Linked DNA regions of Homo sapiens: region 1 is linked to region 2. The links are contacts of gene promoters, found by promoter capture Hi-C in human tissues and cell types (Jung and others, 2019). All regions are on one chromosome and are shown on one strand. Each heading gives the region's core, a stretch centred on a gene start or on the middle of the fragment in contact. The rest is flanking DNA. Distances are from core to core; before and after follow the strand shown.

Evidence for each region. Contacts are between HindIII fragments. The study calls those that stand out against the background at their distance.
Region 1: a fragment that was not itself captured here is called in contact with the fragment with the promoter of MRPL21 in region 2 in 2 of the 25 tissues and cell types used here (IMR-90 fibroblasts and aorta).

Annotation. Positions count from the first base shown.
Region 1 is chr11:68,786,296-68,793,545 of GRCh38, forward strand. It overlaps CPT1A (carnitine palmitoyltransferase 1A), which reads right to left. Exons shown (of 19, transcript NM_001876.4): 9 at 7,020-7,107. Among named protein-coding and RNA genes, the nearest start is that of TESMIN, 38 kb to the left of the region's middle. The HindIII fragment of the contact is 3,433 bases long and covers 4,032-7,250 here.
Region 2 is chr11:68,898,356-68,905,550 of GRCh38, forward strand. MRPL21 (mitochondrial ribosomal protein L21) reads right to left here and starts at 5,477. Exons shown (of 7, transcript NM_181514.2): 1 at 5,368-5,477; 2 at 2,193-2,250. The coding sequence starts at 5,455. It overlaps IGHMBP2 (immunoglobulin mu DNA binding protein 2), which reads left to right and starts at 5,536. Exons shown (of 15, transcript NM_002180.3): 1 at 5,536-5,683. The coding sequence starts at 5,598. RefSeq lists enhancers at 5,350-6,077, 5,509-5,628, 5,959-6,018. The HindIII fragment of the contact is 6,843 bases long and covers 670-7,195 here.

The DNA of each region.
Region 1 (7,250 bases), core at 4,498-6,997, 110 kb before region 2:
GGCTGCAGTGAACTGAAATTGCACCACTGCACTCCAGCCTGGGTGACAGAGCAAGATCCTATCTCAAACAAACAAACAAAAACAAAATAGGACAAGTGTCACAAAAGGCTAGAAAGTGTAGGACTAGGACCAACCTAGCCTGGAGATGTGAGAAAGCCCTTCCACCCCCACTAAGGAAGTGATGTTTAAGAAGAACCCGGCCAGATGAAGAACAGAATTAATCAATATTATGCCCGATCTCATGTTTTTTTTGAGACGGAGTCTCGCTCTTATTGCCCAGGCTGGAGTGCAGTGGCGCGATCTCGGCTCACTGCAACCTCCGCCTCCCGGGTTCAAGCTTCTCCTGCCTCAGCTTCCTAAGTAGGTGGCATTACAGGCACCTGCCACCACACCTGGCTAATTTTTGTACTTTTAGTAGAGATGGGGTTTCACCGTGTTGGCCAGGCTGGTCTCAAACTCCTGACCTCAGGTGATCCACCCGCCTCGGCCTCCCAAAGTGCTGGGATTACAGGCATGAGACACTGCACCTGGCCTCCTGCTCTGATTTTTAAAATGTTTACCAAACCAAGGATGCAGGAGACCTGCTTTGGTTTGCTGAAGGGTTCCTACCAGAAACTTGGACCAAACGGCATTTGAAGCCTTCGCTTTAAAGTCACAAACAAGACAAGAATGCACACCATGACTATGTATATTCCACATTACACTCAGGATGCTGGCCGGGCAATAAAATAAGAAACAAGTAAAAGATAAAGGATTGAAAGGGAAATATCAAAGGTGTCATTTGCAGCTATGATTAGCATGTGGAAAATCCAAGAAAACCTATCAGCTGTTTAAGCCAATAAGAATACAGCTGGGTAGTGGCTGGGTGCAGTGACTCACACCTGTAAACCCAGCACTTTGGGAGGCCGAGGAAGGCGGATCACGAGGTCAGGAGATCAAGACCATCCTAGCTAATATGGTGAAACCCCATCTCTACTAAAAATACAAAAAATTAGCCGGGCATGGTGGCATGTGCCTGTAGTCCCAGCTACTCAGGATGCTGAGGCAGGAGAAGCTTGAACCCGGGAGGCAGAGGTTGCAGTAAGCTGAGATCCTGCCACTGCACTCCAGCCTGGGCGACAGCAAGACTCTGTCTCAAAAAAAAAAAAAAAAGAATACAGCTGGGTAGAAACACAGTTTATAAAAACCTTTCATGTTCCTATACCCCAGGGCACAGGCTGAACTGTGTCCCCCCATTCATATATTGAAATCCTAACCCCCAGCACCTCAGAATGTGGCCTCATTTGGAGATGGGGTCTTTAATGAGGTCATTAGGGTGGGCCCTAATCCTATGTGACTGTGTCCTTTTAAGAAGAGGAGTTTAGGGTTGGGTGCGGTGGCTCACGTCTATAATCCCAGCACTTTGGGAGGCCGAGGTGGGCAGATCGCCTGAGGTCAGGAGTTCGAGGCCAGCCTGGCCTACATGGTGAAAACTCGTCTCTACTAAAAAATTACAAAAATTAGCCAGGCGTGGTGGCGGACACCTGTAGTCCCAGCTACTTGGGAGTCTGGAGCAGGAGAATCACTTGAACCCAGGAGGTGGAGGTTGCAGTGAGCCGAGATTGTGCACTGCATTCCAGCCTGGGTGACAGAATGAGACTCAGTCTCAAAAAAAAAAAAAAAAAAAAGGGAGACTTTAGGACACGCACAGAGGGATGACCACGTAAGGACACAGGGAAGAGATGGTTATCCAAGGAGAGGGGCCTACAGAAGGAACCACCTCTGCCAACACCTTGATGTTGGAGTTCCAGCCTGCAGAATTGTGAGAAAATCGCTGTCTTGCTTAAGCCGTGCAGTCTGTGGTATTTGTTATGGTGGCCTGGGCAAACTTACACGCTGCATAACCAACACCTTGAAAATATTCTTGAAAAGGAACAAAACAATAAAAGTGCTTAGAAACAGCTCGAACAAATGATGTGCTGCAAGGACTTCATGGAGAAAAGTATGACATTTTATTAAAATCGCCTAAAAAACAAAAAAGGGGCCAGGCACAGTGGCTCATGCCTGTAATCCCAGCACTTTGGGAGGCCGAGGCGGGCGGATCACTTGAGGCCAAGAGTTTGAGATCAGCCTGGCCAACATGGCAAAACCCCGTCTCTATTAAAAATACAAAAGTAAGCTGGGTGTGGTGGTGCATGCCTGTAATCCCAGCTACTAGGGAGGCTGAGGCAGGACAATCGCTTGAAACTGGAAGGTGCGGTTTGCAGTGAGCCAAGATTGCACCACTGCACTCCAGCCTCGGCAACAGAGTGAGACTCAGTTTCAAAAAAACAAAAACAAACAAACAAACAAAAGTAAAAAAAAAAAAAAAAAAAAAAAAGCAGAATGTCTGGAATATATAAATACTTTCTACAAATCAATAAGGAAAAGATACACATCCATTTTTAAAAAATATACAAAATATAAGAACAATATTCTCAACAGAAGAAACCCAAATGTCCAGTTAACATTTTAAAAGTTGCTAACCCTTTTGGCAAAAATGAAGGGAAAAGGGTATTTTATAGATTGCTGGGGACGTGAAAGTTGGTAAAATCACTTTGAGGGTAATTTGTCCATGCCAGTAAGACTGGAAATGTCAACCAGGGCAGCCGGCAAGCCAATTCTAGGTGCCTGCTCTACAGACTGTTTGACCAATGCATGCAGGGGAGAAACATACACAGAATTCACTGAGCGTCACTTAGAAAGGAAAACAGGAAAGAAAGAAAAGCGTTCACATACTGGAATTGTTTTGATACTATAACGAAGTACATCATAAATGTCAATAATGATTGTACTGGAGTGGTAAGATTAGGGCTGTATCTTCTGCTAAAAGATTTTCTAAATTTTGGTAGTAATTCCATTTTATAGCAATATATATTATTAAATAGAAAAATGCCAGAACTTAAGACCCTTAAGATAAGTCTATACCTCTTTCCCTTTTTTTATTTTGGGGAATTTGAATGGTCTAATTAGTGAGGATTGTGACTGATGGGATCCTCCGGTGGGGATGTCTGAGAAAGTGGGTGGGGCTTTGCCCGATGATCACCAACGAATGGCATTGCACGTGCTCATATACATTTACCTTTCTTTATTTTTTTTTTTTGACAGGGTCTTGCTCTGTCACCCAGGCTGGAGTGCAGTGGTGCGATCTCAGCTTACTGCAAGCTCCTCCTCCCAGGTTCAAGTGATTCTCCTGCCTCAGCCTCCTGAGTAGCAGGGATTACAGACATCTGCTATCACGCCTGGTTAATTTTTGTGGGTTTCTTTTAGTAGAGGTGGGGTTTCACCATGTTGGCCAGGATGGTCTCGAACTCCTGACCTCAAGTGATCCACCCGCCTCGGCCTCCCAAAGTGCTGGGATTACAGGCGTGAGCCACCACTCCCAGGCTTTGTATTTACATTTCTTTCATTCCCAGTGATGTTGAATGCTTTTCTATAACTCCTTAAACATTTCTCCTTCCAGGGGTGCCCATCATTTCCTTTCCAATTAGGATCTTCATGGTTTTCTGGCAGATTTATAAGAACTCTTTACATATTAACCCTGTTCTCTGTTGTGAGCACTTACCCTCAATTTGTTATCTACCTTTTAAAACAGTTTGAAGTATTTTTGAAATATAGAAAACTAAAATCTTTACATGACAATATTTGGATTTTTCCGTTGTTGTAATGAGTTGAGCTGTTTCTACCCAAAAGATATGTCCATGTTCTAGCCCTGGTACCTGTGAAAACCTTATTTCTTAATCGGAAGTAGGGTCTTTTTTTTCTTTTTTTGAGACAGGGTCTCATTCTGTCACCCAGGCTAAGTGCAGTGGTGTGATCACAGCTCAGCTCACTACAGTCTCCACCTCCCAGGCTCAAGTGATCCTCCCTCCTCAGCCTCCTGAGTAGCTGGGACCACAGGTACACACCACTATGTCCGACTAATTTTTGTATTTTTTGTAGAGATGGGGTTTTGCCATGTTGCCCAGGCTGCTCTCAAACTCCTGGGCTCAGGTGATCCACCCACCTCAGCCTCCCAATGTGCTGGGATTACAGGCATGAGCCACCACATCTGGCCTGGAAATAGGGTCTTTGCTGATATAATTCAATATTAAGATGAGGTCATACTGGACTAGGGTGGACCCCAAATCCAATGACTGTTGTCCTTGTAAGAGAGACACACACACACAGAGGTGAGAGCCAAGGTGACATGGAGGCAGAGATCAGAGTGATATGCCTACAAGCCAAGGAGCACCTGGACCCCCCCAGAAGCTGGAAGAGGCATAAAGGCCTCCCCCAGAGCCTTTGAAAAGAGCACGGCCCTGCTGACACCTTGATCTCGGACTCTGGCCTCCAGAGCTGTGGCAGAAGAAACTTCTTTTGTCTTAAGACATCCAGTTTGTGGTCATTTATTCCAGCAGCCCCAGGAAACTGACTCAGGTATCATGCTCAGAATGGCTGTCCAGGTACACTAAGTAACTAGGTTTTATCCCAGCATTTCCCTTGTTTATTGATTTATTTTATTTTTATTTCATATACATATTTTTTTGAGATGGAGTCTCACTCTGTCACTCAAGCTGGAGTGCAGTGGCATGATCTTGGCTCACTGCAACCTCCACCTCCCAGGTTCAAGCAATCCTCCTACCTCTGCCTCCTGAGTAGCCGGGATTACAGGTATGCACCACCACACCTGGCTAATTTTTGTATTTTCAGTAGAGATGGGGTTTCACCATGTTGGCCAGGCTGGTGTCGAACTCCTGACCTCAGGTGATCCACCTGCCTTGGCCTCCCAAAGTGCTGGGATTACAGGAATGAGCCTTTGTGCCTGGCCTCCCTTGTTTATTTTTTTAAACACATACATATTTACCTCCTGGAATCACTGTCAGTGTAGGCCGCATGTCTCAAACTTAAATGATCTTAAGGATGTCCCCATACCACGGTGCTGACTGACAGCAGGTGACAGCCTCCCCAGGACACCCTGACCCACTTCCCTTTGGGGACACTGCCTGCCCTGGTCAGTGAAGGGGCAACTGCCCCTCCAATCAGGGAGACACTGTGAGAGGATGGAGAGAACCAACTTCACTTTCCTCCACCTCGTTGCCCAACTGCCCCAGGACTGCTGTTGGCCAACACATCTGTTTTTCACATGTTGAGCTACAGTACAATGGACGACAGTGTGTGGCAGGAAGAGAGGAGGGGTTTAGCCAGAAACACTGTGAAATCCGTGAACACACATGGAGTGGGTTCTTTTTTGTTTTTTTGAGATGAAGTTTCACTCTTGTTGCCCGGGCTGGAGTGCAGTGGCACAATCTCAGTTCACTGCAACCTCCACCTCCCATGTTCAAGTGATTCGTCTGCCTTAGCCTCCCAAGTAGCTGGGATTACGGGTGCCCACCACCATACCTGGCTAATTTTGTATTTTTAGTAGAGATGGGGTTTTGTAGACCAGTAGTAGGCTGGTCTTGAACTCCTGACCTCAGGTGATCTGCCCACTTCGGCCTCCCAAAATGCTGGGATTACAGGCGTGAGCCACCGCGCCTGGCCAGAATGGGTTTTTAGAGAACCTCTGAAGGCAGGATCAGAGGAAAGGGGAGAATCTGCTTAGGAAAGCCCACTCAGAGGCCAGCTTTTGTGCAAGGATACAGCAAAGGCTCCCCAATGACCACCACAGTGCACACTACTGACTAGGGCTTGGTCTGGAATATTGACTAGGGCTTGGTCTGGAAGGACCGGGCTGCAACAAGACACTCAAAACTGCAGGTCAGGCCAGGCATGGTGGCTCACATCTGTAATTCCAGCACTTTGGAAGGCCGAGGTGGGACGATCACGAGGTCAGGAGATGAGACCATCCTGGCTAACACGGTGAAACTCCGTCTCTACTAAAAATATAAAAAATTAGCCGGGCGTGGTGGCAGACACCTATAGTCCCAGCTACTCGGGAGGCTGAGGCAGGAGAATGGCGTGAACTCGGGAGGTGGAGGTTGCAGTGAGCCGAGATCGCGCCACTGCACTCCAGCCTGGGCAACAGAGCGAGACTCCCTCTAAAAAAAAATAAATAAATAAAATTGCAGGTCAGCTCTGGCCCTTTCCAGCCAGCTTCCCAAGCAGCCCCGAGGCCCGCCCGTCATACAGGCCTGCCATGATGGTCTTGGGCTCTAGCTCACCAAGTGTCTCTGGGTAGTTCCCCATCCACAGGCACCTGGGGAAATGGAGGCCATGGACAGCACAGCCTGGGCCTGGGCCTGGCCTGGATGTTCCCCACGGTGCCTGTTCTCCCTCCCTGTCATTCTCAAGGACGTCCTGGTTTGGACGGTGGCTTACGTGGCCACCCTGCCCAGGTCAGGCAGCTGATAAAGGAGTGGCTGGAACACAAATCCACCTTTCCGAGCACGACCCAGTGTGCGTTCCATCACAAACGCTGACTGTGAGCCGGAGTAAAATGCCCCTGAGGAATCCAGACTCAGGAAAAAAACACTCAGCTGTGTGTGACTCACGCCTGTAATCCCAGCACTTCGGGAGGCCGAAGCGGGCGGATCACTTGAGTCCAGGAGTTTGAGATCAGCCTGGGCAACACGGCAAAACCTCATCTCTATAAAAAATGCAAAAATTAGCCAGGCATGATGCATGTGCCTGTGGTCTCAGCTACTGGGGAGGCTAAGATGGGAGGATTCCTTGAGCTCAGGAGGTGGAGGCTGAAGTGAGCCGTGATCATGTCACTGCACTCCAGCCTGGGTGGCAGAGAGAGACCTCATGTCAAAATAAATAAATAAATAAATAAATCAAACACTCTATGAGACAGTTGGCAGTCTTCAACCAAAGAGAAATTAAAATCTGGAAATAAGTCAACAACAGTGTCCAGGCCTAAGACAGACAAAGGAAATTCAGCAGAAGGAATGTTCACCAGCCTACAATCTCAGGAAGGGTCAGCAAAAATCAATTTGGCCCCTTTGACACTTCCTAATTCTGAGCATAGGGATGGAAAGTGCCGATTCTCCAGGGGGCCCTGAAGAAGCTTGACTCACCTGTCTCCTCTCCTGGGATCCGGGAAGTATTAAACATCCGCTCCCACTGAGCGGAGCAGAGTGGAATCGTGGATCCCAAAAGACGAATCTGTAACAAAAATATATTTCAAACCAACAACGAAAATCCCACAGAAGAAAAGCAGCAAGTTGGCCGGGTGCGGTGGCTCACGCCTGTAATCCCAACACTTTGGGAGGCTGAGGCGGGCGGATCACGAGGTCAGTAGATGGAGA
Region 2 (7,195 bases), core at 4,227-6,726:
CCTCTACTTTCCCCACAACCCAGGACACAGGGCCAGCAGCTCTCCCGCCTCCCTTGGCATCCAGTGGCCCTGGAATGGCAGCTCCAATGACCCTTCACCACATCCTGCTCAAACAGGACCATGACGTTCCCTGCTCCACCTCCACCTCCTCCTAGGTAGGTGCCTGCTCTTCCTTCACACCCAGGTGAGTGCCAGGCAGAACTGGCTCGGAACCCCAGACAATTCTGTGTCCTGGTGTCTACAACTGAGCAAATGGGAAAACAAGCACCCGCCTGAAAGGGCTGTGTTAGGTATTAGATGGCTACTGTTCACAGCCGGTCCCAGCATGGCCAGTGAGGGTCGGGTGTTAGGAGTGCTCAGTCTCAGCAGCTATAGCACTGCGGTCCCCAGCCACTTCCCCTCCCCACCCTCAGGATGCCAAGCTTGGTGCGGGCAATGCCTTTTTTTTTTGAGACGGAGTCTCGCTCTGTCACCCAGGCTAGAGTGCGGTGGCATGATCTCAGCTCACTGCAACCTCTGCCTCCAGGGTTCCAGCGATTCTCCTGCCTCAGTCACCTTAGTAGCTGGGATTACAGGCACATGCCACCACATCTGGCTAATTTTTGTATTTTTAGTAGAGATGGGGTTTCGCCACATTGGCCAGGCTGGTCTCGAACTCCTGGCCTCAAGTGATCCGCCCACCTCGGCCTCCCAAAATTCTGGGATTACAGGCATGAGCCACCGTGCCCAGCCCAAGATCTTCTTCATTTCCTAACTCTCCCCTGCCTGCTCAGCCTCAGGTAGGTGGAGGGGAGAGGAAGGGAGGAAAGAAAGAGGGGGGCCTAGATTCAAAAGGAGGTGGGGTCTTTCTTTCTGTAGTCTACAAAGAGGGAGGGTAGGTAGATCCCAAACCGAATTATTCAGAACCGTTTTTAAGCTTTTATTGCTGCTGCCACTGCAAAGTAAAATTTCAGTCTTTCTACTCCAGGGTTGCATTAGGAGGAAGAAAACGACTTGCTCCATATGCAAAATGCACCGGCCTCCACACCAAAGACCAGGCCCACCCGTCCTGTTGGCTGGCGCGCAGGAGGGGCTCCACACCAATCTGGGAGAGGAATGAATGCTTTCCCAGTGGGGTAGGGCTTGGAGCTCCTAGAGACATGAACTCCGTGATCTGTGGTTGGTCAATGACCTTGAGAGACAAGGAGGACAAGGAAGGTGCTGCTCTCTACAAAACGTCTTTGACCTGTTTGATGTCTAGTCTCCCCATACGGGTTCAGCAGTGCCCAGTGTGAGAAGAACACGCTGGCAGGAAGGTGCTAACCTCTCACACAGGACACAGGGGTAGTAGGCACAACCTACCCACATGCTCACTTACAACTTCTTCCTATGCTCAGAATGTTTTGCCGCTTCTTTGAGAAGCAAGAAAGACTCCCACATCTCCCCACTGCAGAGGATCCCTGGAGTCCCAGCAGCAGTTCCAGCAGCCAATGTTTTGTGAGTGCTGACTGTATGCCAGGCACTGTTCTAAGAGCTTTAAATGTATACATTTACTTAATCCTCTCCAACACCCATGCAGATAGAAATGAACATTACTTCCATCTTGCAGAAGCCTGGCGTCCCAGGCTGTGAGGGGCAGCCGGAACTGCACCCCGGGGGGGTCCCTACAGTAACTGCTATCCCTGCACTGCTCCTGTGTCTCCCACCAGTGAGTGGAACTTTGTCGAATGTTTTCTGCAGTTTATGATACCTAAAAATGTTTTCTCAAGTATAAAATTTTAACACTGAATGTGCTTTTTCAAATAATGAGTTTCTCTTAGAGACTCTGATACAAACTTCCTCATCAGAAATCTTGAGTTAAGACTTCAAGCTCCTCCATAATAAAAGAGAGCAAACACATACAGAATTTCTCTTTGGTCTCTTGCAGTTACGTCTTCTTTTAAGGGTCTCAGAAAAATACCGTCAAAAAAGTTAAAGCTGAAAGTGGTGGTGCATGCCTGTAATCCCAGCTACTCAGGAGGCTGAGGCGGGAGGACCACTTTAGGCCAGGAGTTCAAAACCAGTCTGGGAAACATAGTGAAACTCTGTCTCTTAAAAACAAAAGAGGAAATTTAAATATTATTGAGAACCAAAAGGTAGGAAGTTTTGACTTTAGAAAGATGGTTCTACAAATGAAAGGAAAAGAGGCACCAAAACCCACATTTTGATATTACCCTGGTAGATATGAAGTGCTCTGTGAATTGAACCTTCGAGAAGCAGACCAAAGGGAGGCTGAGGGAAGAAGAGAAACACAGATCATTACCATTAATACTACAAATGCAAACTGCCCTTTATGATGCTAAATGCACAGCTGCTGCTCCTGGTACATGGTATGAACCACTGCATGACAGCCTGCCCACAGAAACACCTAGGTGAGCAAAACTACAAGAACGTCACTTACAGCTACTGGTTATATGTGTTGAGATCAGTTAGCCACATCATCTACAAGCGCCTGAGACCAGAACCACCCGTCCACTAACTCATGCCTTGACTAAGTGCCTGGTAGGTTCAGACTCTGATCTGTGCCCAAGCGTGGGAGCAGCCTCCAAGATGGCCCTGCTGGGCCCCGCCTCCTGCTATTCTTACCCCTGTTAGCCCCCTGGGAGTGGCCTGTGTGTCCAACAGCTAGTGACAGACATGCTAGCACGTGGCTTCTGGGATGAGGTGATAACCAACTGGGACTTCCATCTTGGATGCCTGTGCTCACCCTTTCTGATCTCTGGCCTTAGGGCTGCCCTGCTGTGAGCAGCCCTACCTAGAGGTCCACATGGCGGGGAACTAGGCCTATCGCCAACACCCATGGGAACGACCTTGCAGGTAGATTCTCCAGCCGCTGGCGCAGTGGAGTCTTGAGATAACTACAGCCCCTGCAGACTTGCTTGCTGCAAGCTAAGACCCTGAGCCAGAACCAGCCACTTAAGCTGCTTCTGTGTTCCTGGCTCTCAGAACTGGTGTGAGTTAATAAATGTTTTAAGCTGCTAAGTTTTGGGGTAATTTCTGATGTAACCGTAGATAACGCATACACCAGGAATACACCAGGAAACAAAGACATTCAATCTACTGAGAAGACAGGGGATCAAAATAAGTGCTTAGGTGTAAAAAGCAGAGAACAGTTTCTCAATAACCACTTTTAAAGAAACTCAGCTATAATTTACACACCATAAAAACCACCTTTTTAAAGTTCACCCATTAGCACCAGCTCCCCATTTGCATCTCCTCGGCTGCTTTCTCCTCTCCTCTCCCATTTGGGCATCCGGGGCTCAACCCTTGGCCTTGACCTCCTCTCCGCCCATGGCCATTCCTCTGGTGACTGCATCCAGTCCGATGGATTTAAACACCCCCAATGTGCTGGTGACTCCCAAGTTTACACCTCCAGCCAGGGCTTCTCTCCTGGTTTTGCATACCCACCTATCTATCTGCCTTAGCCACTCGTGTCTGACGAGCACCTCACACCTCCAGAGGCTCCTCATTTCTTCCCATGCCTGCTTCTCCCACACTCCTCCCTCTCACATGAGGGCAACTTCATCCTCCCAGTTGCTCAGGCCCCAAACCTCCATCAGTTTTGACTCTTCTCTCGCACACTACTCAGTCAACCCATTGGCAAATCCATCCCACTATTAAAAACTTAGCAGGCTTCTGTACCTAATTTGCTTCTAGCTTTGTTTTTGGGTCCCCAGGGAACAAACAGTCTCCTTCCTCTCCCACAGGATTTCCTTTAGGTAGTCCTAGAGACTGTGACTGTGTACTTCCATCACGTCTCCTTTGCTCACTCTTCAAGGCCCCAGCTGCTCACTGTTTTGGTCACCTTGTCTCTACTCGCTTCACTGTGTGTCTTTCTCTCCTAATGCGTGAGTCTGTACTTGAACATAGCATTGGAGGGGTGGTTTCATGTAGGTAGGTAGAATGGAGTAAGTCCCACTGCTTTTGTAAAAACTTTCCTGCCTACTTAAACCTAAGTTTTATTATGGAAAATGTCAAGCATACAAAAGTAAAGAGAACAGAATAGTGAACTCTCTCAATTATCCCTTTCCAGGTTCAACAGTTACCAACTCATGGCCAATTTTGGCATCTACATTGCCTCTGGCCCAACTCTGTGATTATTATTAATTTCTTAATAGACTTTATTTTTTAGCACAGTTTTAGTTTCACACCAAAATTGAGTGGAAGGTACAGAGAGTTCCCATATGTCCCCTGTCCATGTGCCCACAGCTTCCTATCAACATCCCTCACCAGAGTGGTACAATCTTTACAATTGATGAACCTACATTGACACATCATTGTTATCCAAAGTCCATAGTCTACATTAGGGGTTCACCCTTGGTAGTGTACATTCTATGGATTTGGACAAACTTATAATGACATGTATCTACCATTATATCATACAGAATAGTTTCACTGCCCTAAAAATCCTCTGAGCTCCACCTATTTATCCTTTTCTCCCCCAATCCTCTTACCCCCCATGTAACTTTTTACTGTCTCCTTAGATTTGCCTTTTCCAGAATGTCATAGTGGGAAACATACAAGATGTCCCCTTTTCAGGTTGGCTTCTTTTACTTAGTAACATGTATGTAAGTTTCCTCCATGTCTCTTCATGACTCATTTCTTTTTATTGCTGCATAATATTCTACTGTATGGATGTCCTACAGTTTATGTAACCATTCATCTCCTGAAGGACATCTGGGTTGCTTCCAAGTTTTGGGAATTATGGTACTATTCTTTTAATATCGTCCAATATAGAGTTAGATCCAGTTTTCCATTTTTGGGGGTCATGGTGAGACATGAAACCCAGGTTTAAAACATACATAAACACTCATGCACACAAATACACACTCCAACCATTTTCAAGCAGAGATTTATAGAGTTTTTAACGGACATAACCTTTTTGGAGCCTCGTATCAGCCCAGCGCCTTAAATACGGCTGTTTCTTTTGCAGAATGAGTTCAGATTAGGCGAGGATATCCATCACCATTTTTCAGACCAGCTCGCAGCCTGGGGGCAGTGGTTCAAGCACAGGCTTTGGAGCCGAAATGACTGCGCCTGAAGTACTCTTCTTCCACTTCCCCGCTGTGTGACCCTGGGCACGTTACCTAGCTCCTCTGAGCCTCACTCTTCTCCCCCATAACATAGGGCCTATACCAAAGTTCAAGGGCTATTGTCAGTATTCAGGCTACTAACTGAAGGAATCAAAATCTGAACCTGGGTTCCCCCGACTCCAAAACCCGTGCTATATTCACCACAAATGCGATCAACACACAAGGCACCAGGTCGGACCCAGGCACATACGTGGCGAGACCGCAGGGAGCAGCGCTCGCTCTGCGTCCTCCCTTCCTCCCATATCCCAGGTCTCACCTGCTCCGGGCCCCGAAGGTCTCAGGATGCTGTGGCTGCACGCGGACGCCAGCCGCCCTAAGGTGACCGTCAGGGAAGATGCTGCCATGGCCGCAGCCTCGGCCGGAAACGGAAACGACGCGAACCGCGTGCGTAACGCACGGGCCCGGCGGGGAACACCGGTCCGCTGTAACACCGGCCCGGCGCAGAAGCGGGACGTCGGCTTCTAGGGGCCCAGGCCGGCGGCGGCGATGGCCTCGGCAGCTGTGGAGAGCTTCGTGACCAAGCAACTGGACCTGCTGGAGCTTGAGAGAGACGCGGAGGTGGAGGAGCGCAGGTACGGGAGGCCGCCGGCGCCGCTCCCTCGCGGTCGGTCCCGCCGTGTCCCGGGCAGAGTCTCCGAGGGGCTCGGCCTCATAGTCTGGGGCGGGAATTTCGTCTCCGACCCTTCGAGTCAGGGGCAGGGATCGTCCGTCCCCTGCTTGGCCACCTCCCGAGTTGTCAGTCTCATCACTTCCTGGGCAGCGCGTTCCGTTTGGGGACCCTTAAGAAGCACTTTGATTTCCCGACCCGAGACCCCCCACTAAGCTTACACTCCTGGGCCCTGGCCCCGACCCCAGTTCCACCCGCAGCGAGTTAGCAGCCCTTTCCCTTATTCATTCAGTAAACATGGTTTGCGCCCATTCTCAGTCAGGCCCCGGCAGCATGAGTCAGGTGCACTGGCTGCCCCCGATCCGGCCAGCGGCGGGCTGGGCATAAGCAGAGAGTCCCTTCCCCTCCAGTGCGTCCAGGGCCGGCTGCGTGCGTGTCGCGGGGAAAGAGCCTGGAGGAGGAAGGCCCTTCCCTGGGGAGGGTCATGGTGGCTTCAAGGAGGGAGTGGTGCCTGAAGGAAAATTGGAGTTAAGCTGGTGGGTGCGGAGTAGGGTGGGGAGCCGTCCTGAGAGGTGTGGGGAGCCATGTGAGAGCCGGGCTTGTTTCCGAATGGGACTATTTACTTGTCCAAAACAATCAGAGCTAACACTTACGTACTTTCCATGCGTTAATTCTTTTACACCTCATCCCATGCCAACCCTACAGTGTAAGTTTCTTTTTTTTCTTTTTCTTTTTTTTTTTTTTAGACAGAGTCTCTCTCTGTCGCCCAGGCTGGAGTGCAGTGGCACGATCTCGGCTTACTGCAGCTTCCATCTCCCGGGTTCAAGCGATTCTCCTGCCTCAGCCTCCTGAGTGGCTGGGACTACAGGCGCGCCACCACGTCCTGCTAATTTTTTGTATTTTTAGTAGAGACAGGGTTTCACCATGTTGGCCAGGATGGTCTCGATCTCCTGACCTCGTGGTCTGCCCGCCTTGGCCTCCCAAAGTGTTGGGATTACAGGCGTGAGCCACCGTGCCCGGCCGCAGTGTAGGTTTCTGTTACTGTCATTTTCCGTCTAAGGAGATGGAGACAGAGAGGGGTTAAGTAACTTGCCCCGGGGTGACACAGTGTAGCCCGATTTGCTGTCAGGCAGTCTGCTTCCAGAGTTTGCAGTCAGCCATATGTGGGTAGGATTTGTCTGAGATGCTTTTGATCATGGCAATGGAGAGCTTTTGCAGTTATGTTGAGTTTCTTAGAATCCCAGCTGTTTCATTTATGGCTGTGTGACTTTGCAGGTTCTGTCTCTGAGCCTTACTTACTTCATCTGTAAAACTGGGATGATTCCCACCTCACAGGCTTGCTCTGAGAATGAAACGATCCCCTGTCAGTCAGGTGCTCAGCGTGGTGCCAAGGACAGAGTCAGCCCCCATGGCAGTGGCTCTTTCTGAGGATGCTGAGCAGACTGGCAGGGCGAGCCTGGGAAGGGCCTGGCTAAGG